Linked DNA regions of Homo sapiens: regions 1, 2, 3, 4, 6 and 7 are each linked to region 5. Evidence: promoter capture Hi-C in 16 types of primary human blood cells and fetal thymus (Javierre and others, 2016). All regions are on one chromosome and are shown on one strand. Each heading gives the region's core, a stretch centred on a gene start or on the middle of the fragment in contact. The rest is flanking DNA. Distances are from core to core; before and after follow the strand shown. Region 1 overlaps GXYLT1 (glucoside xylosyltransferase 1). Region 2 has its middle 84 kb from the start of GXYLT1. Region 3 overlaps GXYLT1 (glucoside xylosyltransferase 1). Region 4 overlaps YAF2 (YY1 associated factor 2). Region 5 holds the start of PUS7L (pseudouridine synthase 7 like). Region 6 has its middle 4.7 kb from the start of LINC00938. Region 7 has its middle 8.4 kb from the start of GXYLT1.

What was found. The method cuts DNA at HindIII sites, captures the fragments that hold promoters and counts their contacts. A CHiCAGO score of 5 or more calls a contact.
Region 1: a fragment that was not itself captured here is called in contact with the fragment with the promoter of PUS7L in region 5 in 5 of 17 cell types (naive B cells, total B cells, monocytes and 2 more); the score reaches 12.1 in naive B cells.
Region 2: a fragment that was not itself captured here is called in contact with the fragment with the promoter of PUS7L in region 5 in 2 of 17 cell types (monocytes and naive B cells); the score reaches 6.7 in monocytes.
Region 3: a contact is called between a fragment that was not itself captured here and the fragment with the promoter of PUS7L in region 5, in 11 of 17 cell types (total B cells, monocytes, non-activated CD4 T cells and 8 more). The highest score is 11.0, in total B cells.
Region 4: a fragment that was not itself captured here is called in contact with the fragment with the promoter of PUS7L in region 5 in 4 of 17 cell types (fetal thymus, naive B cells, total B cells and 1 more); the score reaches 10.5 in fetal thymus.
Region 6: a fragment that was not itself captured here is called in contact with the fragment with the promoter of PUS7L in region 5 in 1 of 17 cell types (non-activated CD4 T cells); the score reaches 5.3 in non-activated CD4 T cells.
Region 7: a fragment that was not itself captured here is called in contact with the fragment with the promoter of PUS7L in region 5 in 2 of 17 cell types (monocytes and total B cells); the score reaches 8.7 in monocytes.

Annotation. Positions count from the first base shown.
Region 1 is chr12:42,118,410-42,121,109 of GRCh38, reverse strand. It overlaps GXYLT1 (glucoside xylosyltransferase 1), which reads left to right. Exons shown (of 8, transcript NM_173601.2): 3 at 1,939-2,110. Among named protein-coding and RNA genes, the nearest start is that of GXYLT1, 25 kb to the left of the region's middle. The HindIII fragment of the contact is 4,362 bases long and covers 1-2,700 here.
Region 2 is chr12:42,059,431-42,062,130 of GRCh38, reverse strand. No RefSeq gene overlaps it. Among named protein-coding and RNA genes, the nearest start is that of GXYLT1, 84 kb to the left of the region's middle. The HindIII fragment of the contact is 2,764 bases long and covers 1-2,700 here.
Region 3 is chr12:42,095,751-42,098,450 of GRCh38, reverse strand. GXYLT1 (glucoside xylosyltransferase 1) reads left to right here. Exons shown (of 8, transcript NM_173601.2): 6 at 418-541; 7 at 837-1,009. Among named protein-coding and RNA genes, the nearest start is that of GXYLT1, 48 kb to the left of the region's middle. The HindIII fragment of the contact is 4,036 bases long and covers 1-2,700 here.
Region 4 is chr12:42,231,234-42,233,933 of GRCh38, reverse strand. All of the region lies in intron 2 of YAF2 (YY1 associated factor 2), which reads left to right. Among named protein-coding and RNA genes, the nearest start is that of YAF2, 5.7 kb to the left of the region's middle. The HindIII fragment of the contact is 420 bases long and covers 1,162-1,581 here.
Region 5 is chr12:43,757,427-43,760,126 of GRCh38, reverse strand. PUS7L (pseudouridine synthase 7 like) reads left to right here and starts at 1,337. Exons shown (of 9, transcript NM_031292.5): 1 at 1,337-1,397. IRAK4 (interleukin 1 receptor associated kinase 4) reads right to left here and starts at 1,176. Exons shown (of 12, transcript NM_016123.4): 1 at 1,111-1,176. RefSeq lists enhancers at 470-529, 1,150-1,259, 1,600-1,649. The HindIII fragment of the contact is 3,611 bases long and covers 667-2,700 here.
Region 6 is chr12:45,721,825-45,724,524 of GRCh38, reverse strand. No RefSeq gene overlaps it. Among named protein-coding and RNA genes, the nearest start is that of LINC00938, 4.7 kb to the left of the region's middle. The HindIII fragment of the contact is 466 bases long and covers 1,050-1,515 here.
Region 7 is chr12:42,151,959-42,154,658 of GRCh38, reverse strand. No RefSeq gene overlaps it. Among named protein-coding and RNA genes, the nearest start is that of GXYLT1, 8.4 kb to the right of the region's middle. The HindIII fragment of the contact is 1,854 bases long and covers 344-2,197 here.

The DNA.
Region 1 (2,700 bases), core at 87-2,586, 1.6 Mb after region 5:
GAATTCTCTAAAAATTGTCATGTCTTGATTGCCTAGTTTTTAACTTGTCATTGTGGCTTCCACTGTTTTTGAGATGAACTGGATTCATGTCCCCTCTTTATAGACGTAGAAAGAGTAGAAAGTCTCCCCTCCATCATTAGTTTCAGTGTTATGAACTGATGGGCTCAGCACAAAAGAGGGCAAAGGACAGAGGGTACAAACAAGGGAAGAGACATTGCTTCTTTCTAATTACAGCCAACAGAAAATAATAGAGAGCTTTAAAAAGACCCAAACTGGCCAGGTGCGCTGGCTCATGCCTGTAATCCCAGCACTTTGGGAGGCTGAGGTGGGAGGATCCCTTGAGGCCAGGAGTTCGAGACTAGCCTGGGCAACATAGTGAGACCCCATCTCTACAAAAAATAAAAAAAAAGATTAGTTGGACATGGTGGTCGCACATCTGTGGTCCCAGCTGCTTGGGAGGCTGAGATGGGAAGATGGCTTGAGCCTGGGAGGTTGAGGCTGCAGTGAGCTATGAATGCACCACTGTACTCCATCATGGGTGATAGAGTGAGACCCTGTCTCTAAAAAGAAGGAAAAAAAAGTAAAAAGACCGAAGCTAATGCTAACACCAGACGTGAAAGAAGTGGCACAGCAGAAGCAAGAGGTATTAAAAGTTACTTAAGCCTGTTGGTATCCACTGCTGCACTGTGTTAGAAGTAGATTCTAAAGACATACTAGTGTTTGACTAGCATGTTTTAGACCATCTCAGAAGTGTTTACATCTTCCTAGATATTTGGTAAATGGGAATGAATGTGTGTTATTAATGTGAAGGACATTTTTTCTTGTAGTCAGCATGGTTTAAGATTGAATGTAATACTGAAACATTTATGGATGAAATTATGACTGGGTTTGCTTTACAGTGAACTGTTGGTTGGTGAGAGGTGGTATGGGGAGAGGTTTCATATGAAGTAAGAATGTTTTTAAGGGTTTTTTTTTAATAACAATGTTTTTAAAAAATTGAATGAAAGACCTTCAAATCTATCTTTCTCAATGGGTTCCTTGAGAGAGTTAAGCTCTGATTTCCTAAGGCATCTAATGTGAGTAATGAATTAATTTATTTACTGGCAGCCACAGTGGTGCTAGTTATGTATTCTTGGGAGAATTGAGAAAGTTGTCATTTTTTGTGTGTTCTGTAGTTTGAAAGGAGGAAAATTGGTGAGAAGAGCTGGTTGAGAGTGTGGAAATACGTGATTGATTCAACATTTTTAAAATGTTTTGTAATTTGATGTTTGCCCTTTTCTTATTTTTTAAATAAATACATTCTTTTTTTTGAGACAGGATCTTGCTCTGTCTGGAGTAAAGTGGCACAATTACAGCTCACTGCAGCTTCTATCTTCTGGGCTCAAAATATCCTCCCATGTCAGCCTCCTGAGTAGCCGGGGCTACAGGTGCATGCCACCACTCCTGGCTAATTTTTGTATTTTTTGTAGGGATGGGATCTCGGTATGTTGCCTAGGCTGGTCTTGAACTCCTGGACTGAAGTGACCCTGCTGCCTTGGTCTCTCAAAGCTCTGGGATTACAGACTTGGCCTAGTTTGTTTTATAAATAAAAATTTTGAACTTCAGTTTTTCTTTCTTTCTTTTTTTTTTCCTTCCCTCCCTCCCTTTCCCTTTGCCTTTCCCTTTCTCTTTCTTCTCTTTCTGTCCTTTCTTTCTTCTCTGTCTTTCACAGGGTCTGGCTCTGTTGCCCAGGCTGGAGTATAGTGATGCAGTCATAGCTTACTGCAGCATTGAACTCTTGGTTTCAAGTGATCCTCCTGCCTTAGCTTCCCGTGTAGCTGGGACTGCAGGCATGAGTCACAACATCTGGCTTTGAGCTTCACTTTTTGAGCATGATGAAAGTACACATTGTAAACATATACTAAAACTGTTGAAAAATGTGGTTTTCTTTCCTATTAGGTACAGTCTGAAAATACAGCCTGTTGAGAAAATGCATCTAGCTGTAGTTGCCTGTGGTGAAAGACTGGAAGAAACTATGACCATGTTGAAGTCAGCTATCATTTTCAGCATCAAACCTCTTCAATTCCATATTTTTGCTGAAGATCAGCTACATCATAGCTTTAAAGGCAGAGTAAGTATTTGAGACATAGTCAAGGTTGTAGAGTTGAATATTTAATAATATACTATAATAGAATGTTGTTGTAATAGTCTGTTCACATTGCTAGAAATAACTACCTGAGACTTGGTAATTTATAAAGAAAAGTTTAATTGACTCACAGTTCAGCATTGCTGGAGAGGCCTCAGGAAACTTAGAATCATGGCAGAAGGCAAAGGGGGAAGTAAGGCATGTCTTACATGGCAGCAGAAGAGAGAGAAAGAGAAAGAAGACCACACTTTTAAACCATGAGACCTCATGAGAACTGATGGTTATCACAAGAACAGTAAGGGGGAAACGGCCCCCATGATCGAGTCATCTCCCACTAGGTCCCTCCCTTGACACGTGGGAATTACAATTTGAGATGAGATTTGAGTGGCAACACAGAGCCAAACCATATCAGTTGTTTTATTTCTTAATTGCACAAAAATATTTATTCTGTAACACTGCCCTTGTAAGTGGGGAGTGCTCCTTGAACCACTTCCATCTGAGTCCAGATCTAACGTGAAAGAGGAAGGTTCATTTTTGAACAGCAGTGGGCTACTTAAAAGTAAGTTCTTTGTCAA
Region 2 (2,700 bases), core at 110-2,609, 1.7 Mb after region 5:
AGAATGAAAGTTGGAAAATTTTTACATATTCTGGATCTTCATGGGTCCAGATAGAATTTGTCATGTTTACTACAGAAGGCAAAGGAGAAGGAGAAGGAGAAGAAGAAGAAAAAGAAGAAGGAGGAGGAGGACAGAAAGAAGAAGAAAGCTATTGAAGGGCAACAATCAGTGTCCCATCTTGCACACCTAAAAAATGTGTTTGTTCTAGAGTTCCCATGTTGGATAATTTGGCTGTGTATAGAACTCTAATTTGGACAGCAACTGTCCTTTAAATGTGGAAGGCATATGTTCTATTGTCTTCTAAATTGTAATATTGTTATTGAGATGTCTGATGGAACTCTGATTCTTGAACTCTTGTTTATGGCCTGTCTTTCTGGAAACCATTAAAGTCTTTTCTCCTGGAGATCTTCATTCCACTGGGTAATTCTCGGAGTTCTGAAATTTCATGATGATGAACATGGGGATGAGCCTTTTCTCCTTCATTGTGCTGGGTACTTAAAAAACTTTTGATTTGGACATTTGACATTTGAACCTTTATTTCTGGGAAATTGTCTTGAATACTTTCCTTTCACTTTTTATCTCTCTTTCTGGAACATGTATTTTTCAGACATTTCATAGCCTGGGCTAGTTCTCTAATAAACCTATAATTTCTCTCCTACTTCCAAACTTCTATTGAGGTGCTTTTTTTTTTTCTTTTCTTTTTCTTTTTGGGACGGAGTTTCACTCTGTTGCCCAGGCTGGAGTGCAGTGGTGCAATCTCGGCTCACTGCAACCCCCACCTCCCAGGTTTAAGAGATTCTCTTGCCTCGGCCTCCTGAGCAGCTGGGACTACAGGCGTGCACCACCATGCCTGGCTAATTTTTGTATTTTTAGTAGAGACGGGGTTTCGCCATGTTGGCCAAGCTGGTGTTGAACTCCTGACCTCAGGTGATCTGCCTGCCTCAGCCTCCTAAAGTGCTGGGATTACAGGCGTGAGTCACCGCACTCAGCCTCTATTGAGTTTTTAATTAGTTTTCATATTTTTAATTTCCAAGAATTTTTTTTTGTTCTCTGAATGTCCTTTTTAATAGCATATTGTTCTTGTTTCAAGGATGCACTCTTATCTTTCCATGGATATTAATGATTTTGTATTAGCTCAGTCACAGTTTCTTTTTATTCTTTGTTTTGACCTCTGTCTTTCATGTTAGATTGAATATTTCTAATGACTGATGATTCTTGACTATCTTCTCATATTTAATATCGAGCTACCTAAAAGCTGATGGGAAACTCTATGCATGGGTGGGATTTATTACCTAATAGACTCTATAATACAGTAATCTATTTGTACTGTTTTATTGGGAGCCCCTGACTCTCAGTATGTATAGGTCTTTTTTGGGGGGTGGGGAGTACTGGTCAGATTCCTAAGAAACTCTTGTTTATGTGGTTTGAAACTGACTGCCATGTTTTGGAATCTAAGTAGGGGAAAGGGGTTGTTGCCTTTCACTTAAACCACCTCCCGTCTTTTTTTGGTAGAATACCCCTCATTCTCTGTGAAGCACAGTGTACCCAAATTCAGTCTTTTTGGTCGAACTCTCTAACCAGTTAAACTCCAGGCTTCTGCCATAGTGGAGGAATGGCGTTATATGGTGGCAAAAGGTGGAGGGCAGGTGTGGGAGTGGTGGGGGTGGGATGAAGGGGGAGGAAGGGTGAAATAGATGGCTGTGGTCTAGCAGCATCTTATATGAACTTTCAGCTAGTTCTCATGCATTAAGTCTATCAGTTCCCTTGCTTTCAGTGGCACCTTATGCTTCAGTTCCTGATATTTCCCCAGGATTTTAAAAATTCAGATAGCTTATTTCTGGGATTTCCCCATTGCCTGCTTACATTTAGGCAGAGAAGAGGATAATAACTTCTTCATTTGCTTTCCAGTTTTCAAATTTTTGTTGCTGCATTTATCTCTCTTCCAGTTTTCTTTGTTCATGTGGGTTTATGCCTTTCCTCTTTTACTATCTGTGTTTATCAGAGTTCTCCAGAGAGACAGACAGAACCAATAGGGATTATACATGAGAAAATTTATTATGGGAATTAGCTCACACAATAATGGAGGCTGAGAAGTGCAACCACCTGCCCTCTGCAAGCTGGAGAACCTGGAAAGCCAGTGGTGCAATTCAATCCGAGGCTGAAGATCTGAGAATTGGGACCTCCATTGTCTAAAAGCAGGAGAAGATGGATATCCCAGCTCAAGAAGAGAGAGAATTTGCCTTTCCTCTACATTTTTTTTTTTTCTATTTGGGCTCTTAATGGATTGATCATGGCCACCCAGATTGCTGAAGGCAATTTTCCTTACTCATTCTACTGATTCAAATGCTAACCTCTTTCAGAAACATCCTCACAGGCACACACAGAAATAATGTTTTGCCAGCTATCTGGGCATTCCTTAGCCCAGCCAAGTTGACATGTAAAATTAACCATCACACTTTCATTTTAGTGGAGGTTAGTGAAGAAGCAAAGGTAAATATGTGAGTTCAACTTACTATGTTTAATTCAACAATTTGTTGCTGTTTTTAACATAAGGAGTTTTAATTCTCTTTTCTATCTGTTCTTCTCAGTTTACTGTCTAATTTCTAGAGATGCTAATTAGCATATTAGCTTAAAAATGTGCAAAAGACTCATTTAGCTAATCTCTGGCTGTTTTAAGCTCTATCTTCCATAAAGTCCCTT
Region 3 (2,700 bases), core at 48-2,547, 1.7 Mb after region 5:
ATAGCCATCATGGTAAAAAATAATAATAGCTAACACTGAATATTTACCACGTGTCAGGTGCTATTCCAAGCACTTTAAATTTATATATTAACAATTTTAATCATCAACAACTCTGACGTAGGCCCAGACGTAGGTACCAAAACTATCTTCATTTTAAGATAAGGACACAGTTACTTTCGCTTTCTTTCGTGACTTACTAGTTTTGTCACTGCCACATACAACTTCCTTTTGTTATCTTCTGTTTTACTGTACAGCCCTTCTCACATTTAGGGTTAGAAATGTCACTTGATATTGTGAGGAGTTTGCATTTCTCTTTGTGGATTTGTAATGGTTGCTGTGGGAAGAATGAGGAACTGTCATCATGCTGCCATTTTAAGCCTGAAAGTCTGAAGCTCTTTTGAATGTTTTTATCAACAGAATGATATGACAACTGTACGACTACAATGGGGAGATATACTTATGCCATTGCTTAAAAAATACAAACTAAACATCACATGGGGTGATCAAGATCTATTGAATATCGTGTTTTTTCATAATCCAGGTAATTATTTAAATTCCTTTTATTTGCATTAAAAAAATCACAGATAATACTTAGTGAAAAAGGAAAACATGCACTTATCTGATTCTGTCTTATATTAATGATTATTGCTATTTATGTTTAAGACGGAGTAAAACTTTTCTTGAATTTTGCTTTAATTGGAAGAGATCTAAATGCCAGACATTTTTCATTAATTCTTACTTGTAAGAGCTGTATTTTTTAACTGAAAGTTTTGCATAATGTTACATCTGTGGAATTAGGGGTATTTGCTTCATTGTTTGGTCTTTTCTTTATGTAGAAAGCCTTTTTGTTTTTCCGTGTCAATGGAATTATCGACCAGATCATTGTATATATGGAAGCAATTGCCAAGAAGCAGAAGAAGGAGGAATCTTTATTCTTCATGGGAACAGAGGTGTTTACCATGACGATAAGCAACCAGCATTTAGAGCTGTTTATGAAGCACTGAGAAATGTAAGATTTGCCTTTCCTTTTTTTTAACTTTTTGTTTGAAAATACTTTCAAGCTAATGGTTAGTTTACAAAAATAGTACAAAGAATTTTTACACACACTCAGCCTCATCTGTTATTAACATTTTGCCTTATTTGCTTTGTCGTTGGTTTTCTCTCTACATTTTTTTTTCCTGAAAACAATGTAGTTGTTTTTTCAGAAAACTCAACTTAAATTTGATTGTAAGTTGCATACATTAAGTTCTTTTACCCCTAAAAACTTCAGTTTTTTTTTTTAAACTAAGAATAAGGACGCTCTTTTATTAACCACAGTACATATGTCAAGCTAGAAAATTTAATACTGATGGAATACATTAATCTGCCATCCATATGGCTTTACTCTCTTTTGATCTAGAACAGTTTCTCAGTCTTTGTCTTATATGACATTGGCATATTTGGACAATAGAGCCTCTTCACCCCTTTTTTTATTAGAATGTTCTTCATTTTGGCCTGTCTAATGTTTCCTTACGATTAGGTTCAGGATATACATGCCTGCTCAGAATTCTGTATAGGTGGTGATGTGTGCTTCTCAGGCCCTCATAGTCATAGTCCCTTTTGTCTGCCCCTCACTGGTGATGTTGATTTTGATCAGTCAGTCAAAATGTCATTTATTTTCTCCACAGTGTAGTTATTTTTCCTCTTATAAGCAGCCTATGGGAAGAACCTTTTAAAATCATGTAAACATTCTGCTTCTCATTAAAATTTTCCTACAAGATTTAGCATCTATCGTTGGTTCTTGCCCAAAACAATCTTCACCATGTTATTTGCAAATTGATGATTGTTCAACAATAGCACTCCTTCCACATACATCATTTGACACTTGGCATGCGTCTATAAGGAAGATCGCTCCCTTTTGCACATATATTGATGTTTATATAATCAGTATGAACCCTTTGATACTTATGTTCCTCCAATGATTTATAATTCATTTTTCCTTCTAATTATGTTAATGCTAAAGTTGTTCCAGGTATGGCCATTGGGAGCCCCATTGGCTACTTCTTGTGTCCCTTTGACATGTCCTCATCACTTTTTTTGAGTACCTCTTTTATTTTCTGTTCCAACAAAATATTCCAGGTTTATTTTATACTTTCCCTGCCCTACTGTTGAAATTAGTCATCTGTCAAAGGAGCTCTGGTTCCCTTTAGTAGGCTCTGGATATTAGGCATGTTTATTGCTACCAGGGTCTCATTGCTTTTGAGCTTTTTCAGTGGCAGAGCTAGGAAGTATAAGCGTGCACACATGATGTTAATGTGTTCACACCTGATTCTCTAATTCCATGCCATTCTTCCAAGGCTCTTCCTTTCTTCTACTCTATATTATATCTTCTTTCTTCCACAGTTAGAATCCTGACTTCTGTCATCAACACATTTTGTCATTTGCTTAATCTTACAGTCATTTAAAATAATTTCAGAAATGTTCCTTTCATACCATTGTCTCCACCCCCAAACCAGCTTACTAAAAATGGCTTAGGATTTGTTTTCAGTCCTTCCTCTTCCTCTCCCCTGCTCCCAGACAAGGGTGTGTACTCAATACTGTATTCAGAAGTTACTTGGGTTAGTTCTTTTTTTCCGATCTTTCAGTGTGATTATTTTATTTATTTGAAATACAATTGGATTCATTCGTTTCCGTATGCTTTCAGTTTTAGCTTTTTTCCAC
Region 4 (2,700 bases), core at 122-2,621, 1.5 Mb after region 5:
TTCCCAAAGTGCTGGGATTACAGGAGTGAGACACTGTGCCCAGCCTATCTGAAGATTCTTATAAGGCAAGAAATGTCCCAAATATAAATGCAAGAAACTTTAGGAAATTAAGGATCATTCTTGGCTGGCCCAGTGGCCCACACCTGTAAGCCCAGCACCTTGGGAGGCTGAGACAGGAGGATTTCTTGAGGCCAGGAGTTTGAGACCAACCTGGGCAACACAGTGAGATCTCGTCTCTACTAAAAATTAAAAAAATTAGCTGGGTGTGGTGGTGCATGCCTGTGGTCCCAGCTACTCAGGAGGCTGAAGTGGGAGGATCCCTTGAGCCCCAGAGTTCGAGGTTGCAGTGAGCTGTGATCATACCACTGCACTCCAGCCTGGGCAACAGAGTGAGACCTTGTCTCAAAAAAACAAAATTCTGAGTCATCAGAGAAAATGAAATATTAAATATTAAGGATAGTCTGTATGAGGGTGATAATCAATGTGTGATGATTAATTTAAGACTGGTGTCTTATTGGTACTTCATCTAGTAGTGGACAGTTACTTAATATTGCTTAATTCAGATAGCAAATATTTAGAAATGAAAATGATAGAATTATTGGTTTGGGTTTCAAACTGTGGTCTAAATGGTTCATACCAGGCTTTCAAATGTAACAGGTAATGTTACATTTTGTTAGAGGATATTATAACAGTCCTTTAGGTTTCTCATAGGTGTTATTTTAGAGAGCTATAAAAAAGATTTCACATAGTAGAAAGAGTGCTAGATGTTACACTAGTATGATTTTGGTAACCTGGGTTCATATCTCATTTCATATCAACCATTTCAATATTCAGCATTCAGCAAATGTTTATTGAGCATCTTATTTAAGGGCTGAGTTGGATACTAGACATACAGTGGTGAGCAAAATGGATTTTTTTGTTTCTTTAAAATTTTACAGTTTTGCAAATTAGAACCGCTTTAACTGTACCAAGCTCTATATGTGAGGTTTAGTGTTAGTAGATCTTTCCTTTATGTGTAGGCTGAAGAGGTGGAACTTCTTCATTAAAAATATATGTTGTTTATAACTGAACACAGTATTATTATTATGGTTAGGTAAAAAGAGTGAGTTATTTCAGCTTCTTTTAAAAGTAAGCTATAAAATCCACATTCTGAAAGAAGCTTAAACCAACTATCATCTGGTAGAAATCTTTTCAGCATCGTTGTTTTCTTGTCATACTTGCTTTATGTCTTCAAATTTGAGGTTTGGCACTGATTCTTCTAGACTTTTGGTGTAGGAATGGGAGAAAAAAATTGAGGACCATCTACATAAGTCCTTTTTAAAGAAATGCATGGTTCCTGAGCCGCCTCCTGTCTATCTGAGGAGCCTTTCTAGCAACCATTTAGTTGTTCAGAGACTCCTTATTCTAGGAGATTTCTTACTTGTTTGTTTTTTGTCCTGTAAGAGGACTCACACTGGTTAATTGTATATGGGTAAATTTTACAAGTGATTATTAGTGTTTGTGTAGTCTGGATATCAGAGTGGTTTTCAAAGTGTAGTCTGAGGGACACTGAGAGTCCCTGAGATCTTTTTAGTTGAAGCTTTCTATGAGGTTCACACTGTTTTTATAATAATTTGAAGATGTTATTTGCCTTTTTCACTGTGATGGTGCAGAGGCAGTGATGGGTAAAACTGCCAGCACCTTAGCATGAATCAAAGCAGTGGCACCAAATTGCTATCTTCATTGTAATATTCACCACCATGTACATGCATGCAGTAAGAATAATGTCAGTTTGAATTAAGAATATCCTTGAAGCAGAAAAATTTACTAATTTTATTACATCTCATATTTTTAAAAATATTCTGTCTGACCAAATGGGAACTACACATAAAGCACTTCTACTGTATACCAAAGTACAGTGGTTAAGGGAAAGCACATGTGTAGTTTGTCTTGCAAGCAGAGCTAGTCTTTTTGTCATAGAGCATCATTTTTACTTGAAAGACTACCTGAAATACCATAGTTATTCAGACTTGGATATTTAGCATATATTTTCTTGAAAATGAATATATTCAAAAAATATATCACTTCAAGGAAAACACTTGATACTATATGTTGCCAGTGATAATCATTCAAGTGAAAATTAGAATTTTTGAAAATTTGTAGCAACAATGAGCTTTAGAGTTTCTGTGTATAAAGACTTTTCTGAGAAGATTAGTGGTGGTATCAATGAATATAATTTCTGATATTTCACCATGAAATGTGTCAGCATTTGGAAGCTACGCATAACTCAGCAAACAAATGGTTCCTAGTTACCGATGTATGATTTTACAAAACTGTAATGGGTAATCCATCAAAGTACAAAATACCAACAGATTTTAAGGGAACACTGAAAACTTCATTGATGTGGTTTCAGATTTCATATTGCAACTAACCTTTGAGAAACAACTGTGTTTTTATGTAGTATCAAAGAATAACACCTATAGTTATCTGAAAATGCTATTCAACTACTTACCTCTTTTCAACTGTATATCTGTGAGAGTCCAGATTTTCTTAATATTTTTGGACCAAAACAACATATTGCAACAAATTGAATGCTGAGATAGATGTGACAATCCAGGTGTCTTCTACTAACCAGATGTTAGAGGTTTGCAAAAATATACGATGCCACTCTTCATACAAAATATCTTTGTTTTGGAAAATAATAAGTTTTTAAAATAAAAA
Region 5 (2,700 bases), core at 88-2,587:
AAGCTCAGTTTGGAGAGGTAGAAAGCAAACTTCAAATGAACGCTCTGCAGGAAAACAGAAGAAATTTGAACTTCCCGATAGCCCTCTTCAAGGACCACTCCAAGAAAGGGAAAAGGCAGATTTTAGTATCCTCTGCTTACCAGGGGCCTTGGGCAGTTACGTTTTTGAAGCACTAATAGCGCCGTTTGTTCCCATTCTAAATGCTCAAAGTGCTTTCTCGCTTTCTCAGGGTTTGCTTTTTTTTTTTTTTTTTTCTTTTGAGACGGAGTCTCCCTCTGTTGCCCAGGCTGGAGTGTAGTGGCACGATCTCGGCTCACTGCAACCTCTGCCTCCTGGGTTCAAGCGATTCTCCTGCCTCAGCCCCCGGAGTAGCTGGCATTACGGGCGCCCGCCACTATGCCAGCTAAATTTTGTATCTTAGTAGAGACAGGGGTTTCACCATGTTGGCCAGGCTGGTCTCGAACTCCTGACCTCAAGCGATCCGCCCGCCTGGGCCTCCCAAAGTGCTGGGATTACAAGCATGAGCCACCGCACCTGGACAGGGTTTGCTTTTATCCCTTTGTCTCCCTCTGGCTTCCAAGCTGACAGGTACACTTTTTTCCCCCATCTGCGAATGTACTCATCTGATCCCATAAGCCGCCTCCACTTTCTAATTCCCTGGAAGCTTGGAGGCCGGAGAAACAAGCGAATTACAATCGTGTGGAGGCTCAGCGAGCTGCTGGCGCCACAGGCATCTGTCAGGTGCTGGCCTGACTTCCTGGTTCTGGGGAAAAGAGACTTCATTTCGCAGTCGGGTTCACGGAATCCAGGGCCTGAGAGGTGAGAAACTTGAGGTCCGACTGCGCCCCAGAACAGCTGGGTGACGTCCCTCCAAGCCTCAGGCTCTTCCTCAGGGCCGACGAACTTCTTGATTACCGGGGACCTACCCAAGTCTTTCTTCTGGAGTAAGCTCTGTCAAAGGAACCCACTTCCTCTCTAACTTTTCTCACGGATGATAAAGAGATTTCCGTTCCGCAGCCGACCCCAGCAACCCTGGGGCAGAGGTGCCGAGGCCTGGAAGCGGACCTCGGACGACGTTTGACCGAGGCATTAAGGCGGGGAATGCCTTACCTGCCCGGGCGCGGGCTGCTGAAGCCGGCGACAGAAGAACCAGCCGAACTAGGAAGCGCCGCGAAGGGGCGGGGCCTGCCGGGTTGGCCCCGCCCCACTTCCCCGATGGGCTTCATCTTGGCGCCTCCAGGCGGCTCCACAAAGTGAGAAACTCCACGTATTGCGTAGGGCGCGTCTTTACGTGGGCGCCTGCCCCTTTAATTACGCCCCTGTCGGAGGCTGAAACACTTAAGGCTTCCGGGCATGCGCACAGCGTTGTGCAAATGAATGCCTTCCACTGAACCGAGGTAGACGGGGTCGAGTTTCTTGCGCGATGGTGGGCTTGTATGTGTGTGTGTGTGTGTGTGTGTGGGGGGGGGGGGTGACGAGGTTGGCATTGAGGATCCATACCCTTTGCGCCCAAAGAAAGGTGACGTGGACTAGTGTCGTGCCTTTGGACAGGCAGAGTAAGAGGAGGGAGAAGAAACAGGTAGAGCTGCTGGCCTTGTCGGGGACACCTTTGGACGTGCTGGAGGGCAACGACGCCCTAGTTTTCTGTGAAGTTAAGTAGCTTCTGCAGGACTGGGTTCAGTATTTCTAGTACCTTCTCAGGATCCCTCCTCCGCCAACGAATTCCTCAACCACGGGCCAAGCAAACTACTCCCCCGCCCACTGTCAGCAGCAGTCTCTGTTGAATGGGAATACTGCACCTTCAGGCTTAACGCCACGTGGGCTCCTTTGCTGTCCTCCAGGTCAGTTCCACTCTTCTACCAGGATGCTGGAATTACATTCTCCCCAAGTTTCCCTACCTGTTTCACTTGCTTAGAATGTCTGTCTTCCTCCTTTTTTCTGGGAGAAAGAAAAGATCATTATTCTTTCAGGGCCAATCCCTACAGCTATGTTCTTGACCATGCTGTTTTGTTTTTGAACTCCTCTAACTGTTACTCCATCGGATACATCTTGCTCATTTCCATCAGAATCATCTTACAATTCCAAAAGCATGTTTTGGAATTGTGTCACTTTTCTACTCAAACACTAACAGTAGCCATCCATTGACCACCCAATAGATTCTAAGTCCTTGTCAGGGCATTCAACATCTTCCATAATCTGGTACTAACTCAGCTACATTTTCCAGCACTGTAGTCTCCCTGCATTCCCATCCCCACTGCTCTGTATCTGGACTGCTTGTTTTTCTTGCACACATTGCATGTTTTGTTTGTACATTACTTGTGAGGTCTCTGCCTCATTTCTATCTCTTGAACTATGGAGGACTTAGATGGCCACTTCTTGCATTATGCCTCTTCTAATTATCTTCCACTTCATTCCTACAGCTCTTATTTTGTACTAGTTATTTCATTTATTTAACAATAGTATTTATTGCAGACCTACCATGTGCTTGACACTGTTCAAAATGTGTGATCATCAGTAGTAAATAAGGCAGACAAGGTTACTCCTCACGTGGAACTAACATTCTCTTTGGAGGAGATATACAATAAATAATAAAGAAAAACTTTACCTAGAACTGCTATGCAGAAAATTAAATAGGGTTTTGTGAAAGAGAATCACTTGCTGGGCACGGTGGCTCACGCCTGTAACCCCAGCACTTTGGGA
Region 6 (2,700 bases), core at 33-2,532, 2.0 Mb before region 5:
TGTTTATAGTATTTAATAGCTTCTGAAAACTTTAAGAGAACATACTAAACCAAGGAACTATTTATTAATGGTAATCTATATTTAGTAATAAATATATTTGTAACTTACTAAATGTAAGTTTACTAAATGTAGATTACTAAATCACTGAGTAAATATTTCTTGAATATTTGGACAAGAGATGGGGGGAGGGAGAATGACTTGACCCTCAAGAAACTTAACTGCTACCTTTAAAAGGTTATAATGAAGCTGGGCACAGTGGTACACACCTGTAGTCCCAGCTACTCAGGAGGCTGAGGCAGGAGGACCCCTTGAGCCGAGGAGTTCGAGGCTCTGTCTCTTAAAACAAAAAAAGTTATAAAAATATTCAGACTGGAGGGTTCCTAACTTTTAATACTTAAGCAGGGTCTTTACCACAGAGTTAAATTTAAAATTCTGTTTAGAATGGTAACAAATTTAATTATGTACAAAACAGCATCACTTTAGTGTTAGGATCAGTGTTACTCAAAGTGTTGTAATGTTAATAACAAGCATTTAAATCACATTGTTTGAAAACTGGGATCTACAAAAAATATGATTCCAATAATTAACTTTTTAATTATGGGAAAGGCAAGGGAATGTTCAGTGAATGTAAAAAAAATATACTACTGAGCAAACAAATTGTTTTAATGAATTTTGATTTTCTGTTTTAATTTTTTGGTACATTGACTCTTCTTGACATGGCACTTTGCTATTAATTAAAAAAAATTAAACCCCAAAGACAAATTAATTCTGTATTTAATGCAGATTTAATTCTTGACTAGCTGTAATGCTTAAGGAGTTGGCAGTCTTGTTGGCAAAACAATAAAATAGGAATTAAGCTGAAATGTAAAATTGTGTAATAATTAGGTTTCATTAAAGTATATATAGTTTCCTTAATAACTACATGAGTCAGTAGTGTTGACTTAATAATAAGTTATTTAGCTTTTGCTTTTCTCTGAAAACATATCAAACTCTTCATATATAGCATCGAAATAGATATTCAACCTGAGCCACTGTAAATTGTTGAAGCTTATTGCTATACATTAAGGGAAATTCTATCCAACAGTTCAGTGTAAACAATTTTTTAAAGGTGCTATGATTCTTTAACATGATTTGTAGTATGTAGAACTCAAGTATTCTAGAATAATCTTTGCATGATAATGTATGAGAAACATTTATAAACAGTCCTTCAGGTGTACAAAATAACTGACATAATATTTTGCATTTAACTACACTGCCTCCAAGTATTTTAAACAAAGATGAAATTTTTAGAGTATTGTGCTATATTTTTATAACTGAATTTCCCTCTTATTAACAATACTCATAACATTTAGCCATTAATGATTACTGATAGCTTAAATAAGAGTGTAGTTTCTGTTTCTAATGTCTATTAATTTTAACCCCATTTAAAGATATTTCCTACTTATCATACTCAAAGTTAATCAGAAGTTAAATAAATGATGGTCCTTCTGGTTCTCTGGAAACTGAAAAGAAGCTTCTGTTTCTTTAGGGTATGCAGGAATTTTTTTTCTTCCCAGTGAGCTGAATCCATCCTTTACGCTGCTATTTGCTAACCTCAGTTGTTTTTCTGCTCCATTAAAGTTGAGGCCACCAAAAATAGTAGTAATATCACAACTACAAAACCCTGGGTGGATTTGTACCCATTGCACATACACTTCTTGCTGCCAATTCCTAAGAGACTTTTGAAATAATAGTATATTCCCAGCTGGACAATATATTCTACTTGTGGCCTATGTATAGTGTTCAACAAGTCCAGGAGCCCTATGAAACGGAATGTGTTTACTGCATTTTTCTAGGGAGAAGTTCTCAGCAGGCACGGGCATCTTAAAGACCCTGTGATGCCCAAAAGGTTAAAGCTCTATTTGCTAATGACAGATAGTAAGTTTGGAGGATTGCTTCAGGTGCAGCATTTTATTTTGTGGGTTGTTGGCCTGTAGGGAAAAACATTTTGAAATTGTAGTTAAGGAATACCACTTCAGTTCATCAAATTAAAAAAATTATGGCAAATAAGCAAAAATCTATTTCTAAAGAACTACATACAATATATTCTTACAGAAAATTTTAGATTAAATGCATGTAACTGTTTTTTTGGTTTGCCATGTATTGAAAATGGATGGATGGGGGATTACATTAGTTGATGTATTTATTTATTTATTTTTGAGGCGGAGTCTCACTCTGTTGCCCAGGCTGGGGTGCAGTAGCGCAGTCTCGGCTCGCAACCTCTGCACCCTAGGCTCAAGCAACACTCGCACCTCCACCTCCTGAATAGCTAGGACTACAGGTGCACGCACCATACCACACCTGGCTAATTTTTGTATTTTTTTATAGAGACAGGGGTCTTGCTATGCTGCCCAGGCTGGTCTTAAACTCCTGAGCTCAAGCAATCTGCATGCCCAAGCCATTGGCCCATCTTGGCCTTCTAAAGTGCTGGGATTACAGGCGTGAGTCACCATGGTCAGCCCATATTAATTTAAAGTAGGCTTCAAATATAATTATTCACTAATTGGGAATGCCTGGGGATGTATATGAATGTATTACCGTTTTGTGAGTAGTAGTGTGTGCTTGTGTTCATGGATGGCATTCATCAGAATGTTTGCAATGGTGTAGCCAGGTTACACTGCCATCTTCCTGTTCTCCTTTGTGCTTACTTGCTCTGCCTGT
Region 7 (2,700 bases), core at 21-2,520, 1.6 Mb after region 5:
CGGGCGTTCGAGACCAGCCTGGCCAATACGGTGAAACCCCGTCTCTACTAAAAATACAAAAAATTAGCTGGTCATAGTGGCAGGCACCTGTAATCCCAGCTACTTGGGAGACTGAGGCAGGAGAATTGCTTGAAACCAGGAGATGGAGGTGGCAGTGAGCAGAGATCCCACCCCTGCACTCCAGCCTGGGTGACAGAGCGAGACTCCATCTCAAAAAAAAAAAAAAAAAAAAATTGAGTTCAGTTTTAATAATTATGTAGCCTTGGTTGTCTGCTTATCTGCATTCTAACTTTTTAGTCTTTTTTTTAATCAGAGGAAAAGATTTAATATAAAGATTCAAGCTTCACATCATGACAAATAATAAATTGTGAAATATAATTTTTTCTTCTTCTTTTCGTATTTTTTATAAATATTGGGTTTCACAACATTGCCCAGGCTGGTCTTGAACTCCTGGGCTCAAGCCATCCTCTCGAGTTGGCCTCCTAAAGTATTGGGATTATAGGTGTGAGCCATGGAGGCTGGTGGTGGCTCTTTTTCTATTTTAATCTAATTTCTTATTCTTGATCTTTTTTGTATTTTTCCAGAGTTTGATTTTTATCTACTTGTTTTTCTTTTGTTTTTATAAATGGCCACAAATATCTAGTGTAAATCAGGCCAAATAGTATTTAAAAAAAAAATCTTCCTTATTTCAAGTTGTAAGAATAAACTCCTAGGGGAACTATTTGGGGCAAGGATCCAGTGAGATACATACCTCCCCATCTGGAATTCCTGAGGAGTGGAAATAATACATACAGTTTTAGTAGGTCTTTAGATTACATCTAGATTTAAATCGGCTGACCTACCTGGAAGAAGGGAGTTTGGATGAAAGCTACCACCTCATCATCATTTTTCTAATAAATCTTTTAGCAAGAAAATTCAGAAACTAAATGGATATTATTTTCATTATCCTCTTTTAATTCATAATCCAACAATAAAATGGTCCTGTGTTTACTTTTGGAGTCAGCAAGAATGGGAAGAGTTGGAAGGTTATAAAACTAGTTTGGGAGAAGACTTCTAAAGGACAAAGAAAATGACGGTGAACACATTTTGTTTTTTAATTTTTAATTTCTGTGGGTACATAGGTGTATATATTTACAGGGTACATGAGATGTTTTGATACAGACATGTAATGCATAATAATCACATCATGGAGATTGGAGTATCCATCTCCTCAAGCATTTATCCTTTGTGTTACTGACAATCCAATTATACTCTTTTAGTTATTTTTAAATGTACAATTATGTTATCAAATAGAAGGTCTTATTCATTCTATTTTTTTGTACTCATTAACTATCCTCACCACCCCCACCATCTACCCTTCCCAGCCTCTAGTAACCATCCTTCTACTATCTGTCTCCATGAGTTTAACTGTTTTAATTTTTAGATCCCACAAATAAGTGAGAACATGGGATTTTTGTCTTTCTGACCCCGGCTTATTTCACTTAACATAATCATCTCCAGTTCCATCCATGTTGTTGCAAATGACTGGAACTCATGTTTTTTATGGGTGAGTAGTACTCCATTGTTTGTATGTACCACATTTTCTTTATCCAGTCATCTGTTGATGGACATTTACTTTGCTCCCAAATCTTAGCTATTGTAAACAGTGCTGTAATAAACACCAGAGTGCAGATATCTCTTCAATATACTGATTTCCTTTCTTTTGGGTATATACCCAGCAATGGGATTGCTGGATACTATGGTAGCTCAATTTTTAGTTTTTTTTTTGAGGAACCTCCAACCTGTTCTCCATAGTGGTTGTACTAATTTACATTCCCACCAACAATGTACAAGGATTCCCTTTTCTCCACATCCTTGCCAGCATTTGTTATTGCCTGTTTTTTGGATAAAAGTCATTTTAACTGGGGTGAGATGATATCTCATTGTAGTTTTGATTTGCATTTCTCTGATGATCAGTGATCTTGAGCACCTTTTCATATGCCTGTTTGCCATTTGTACATCTTCTTTTGAGAAATGTCTATTCAAACATTTGGCCCATATTTTGATTGGATTATTAGATTTTTTTTTCCTACAGAGTGTTGCTTGAGCTCCTTATATATTCTGGTTATGAATCCCTGGTCAGAGGGGTAGTTTGCAAATATTTTCTCCAATTCTGTGGGTTTCCTCATGTTGTTGTTTCCTTTGCTGTGCAGAAGCTTTTCAACTTGATATGATTCCATTTGTCCATTTTTGCTTTGGTTGCCTGTGCTTTTGGGGTGTTACTCAAGAAATTTTTGCCAAGACCAAGGTCCTGGAGATTTTCCCCAATGTTTTCTTTTAGTAATTTCATAGTTTGAGGTCTTAGAGTTAAGTCTTTAATCCAGTTTGATTGGATTTCTGTATACGGTGAGAGATAGGGGTCTAGTTTCATTCTTATGCATATGGATATCCAGTTTTCCCAGCACCATTTATTGAAGAGATTGTCTTTTCCCATTGTATATTGTTGGCACCTTTGTCAAAAATGAATTCATTGTAGCTGTGTGGACTTGTTTCTGGATTCTCTTTTCTTTTCTATTCTTTTTTTTTTTTTTTTTTTGGAGACAGAATCTCACTGTGTCACCCAGGCGGGAGTACAGTGGTGCAATCTTGGCTCACTGCAACCTCTACCTCCTGGGTTCAAGAATTCTCGTGCCTCAGCCTCCTGAGTAGCTGGGATTACAG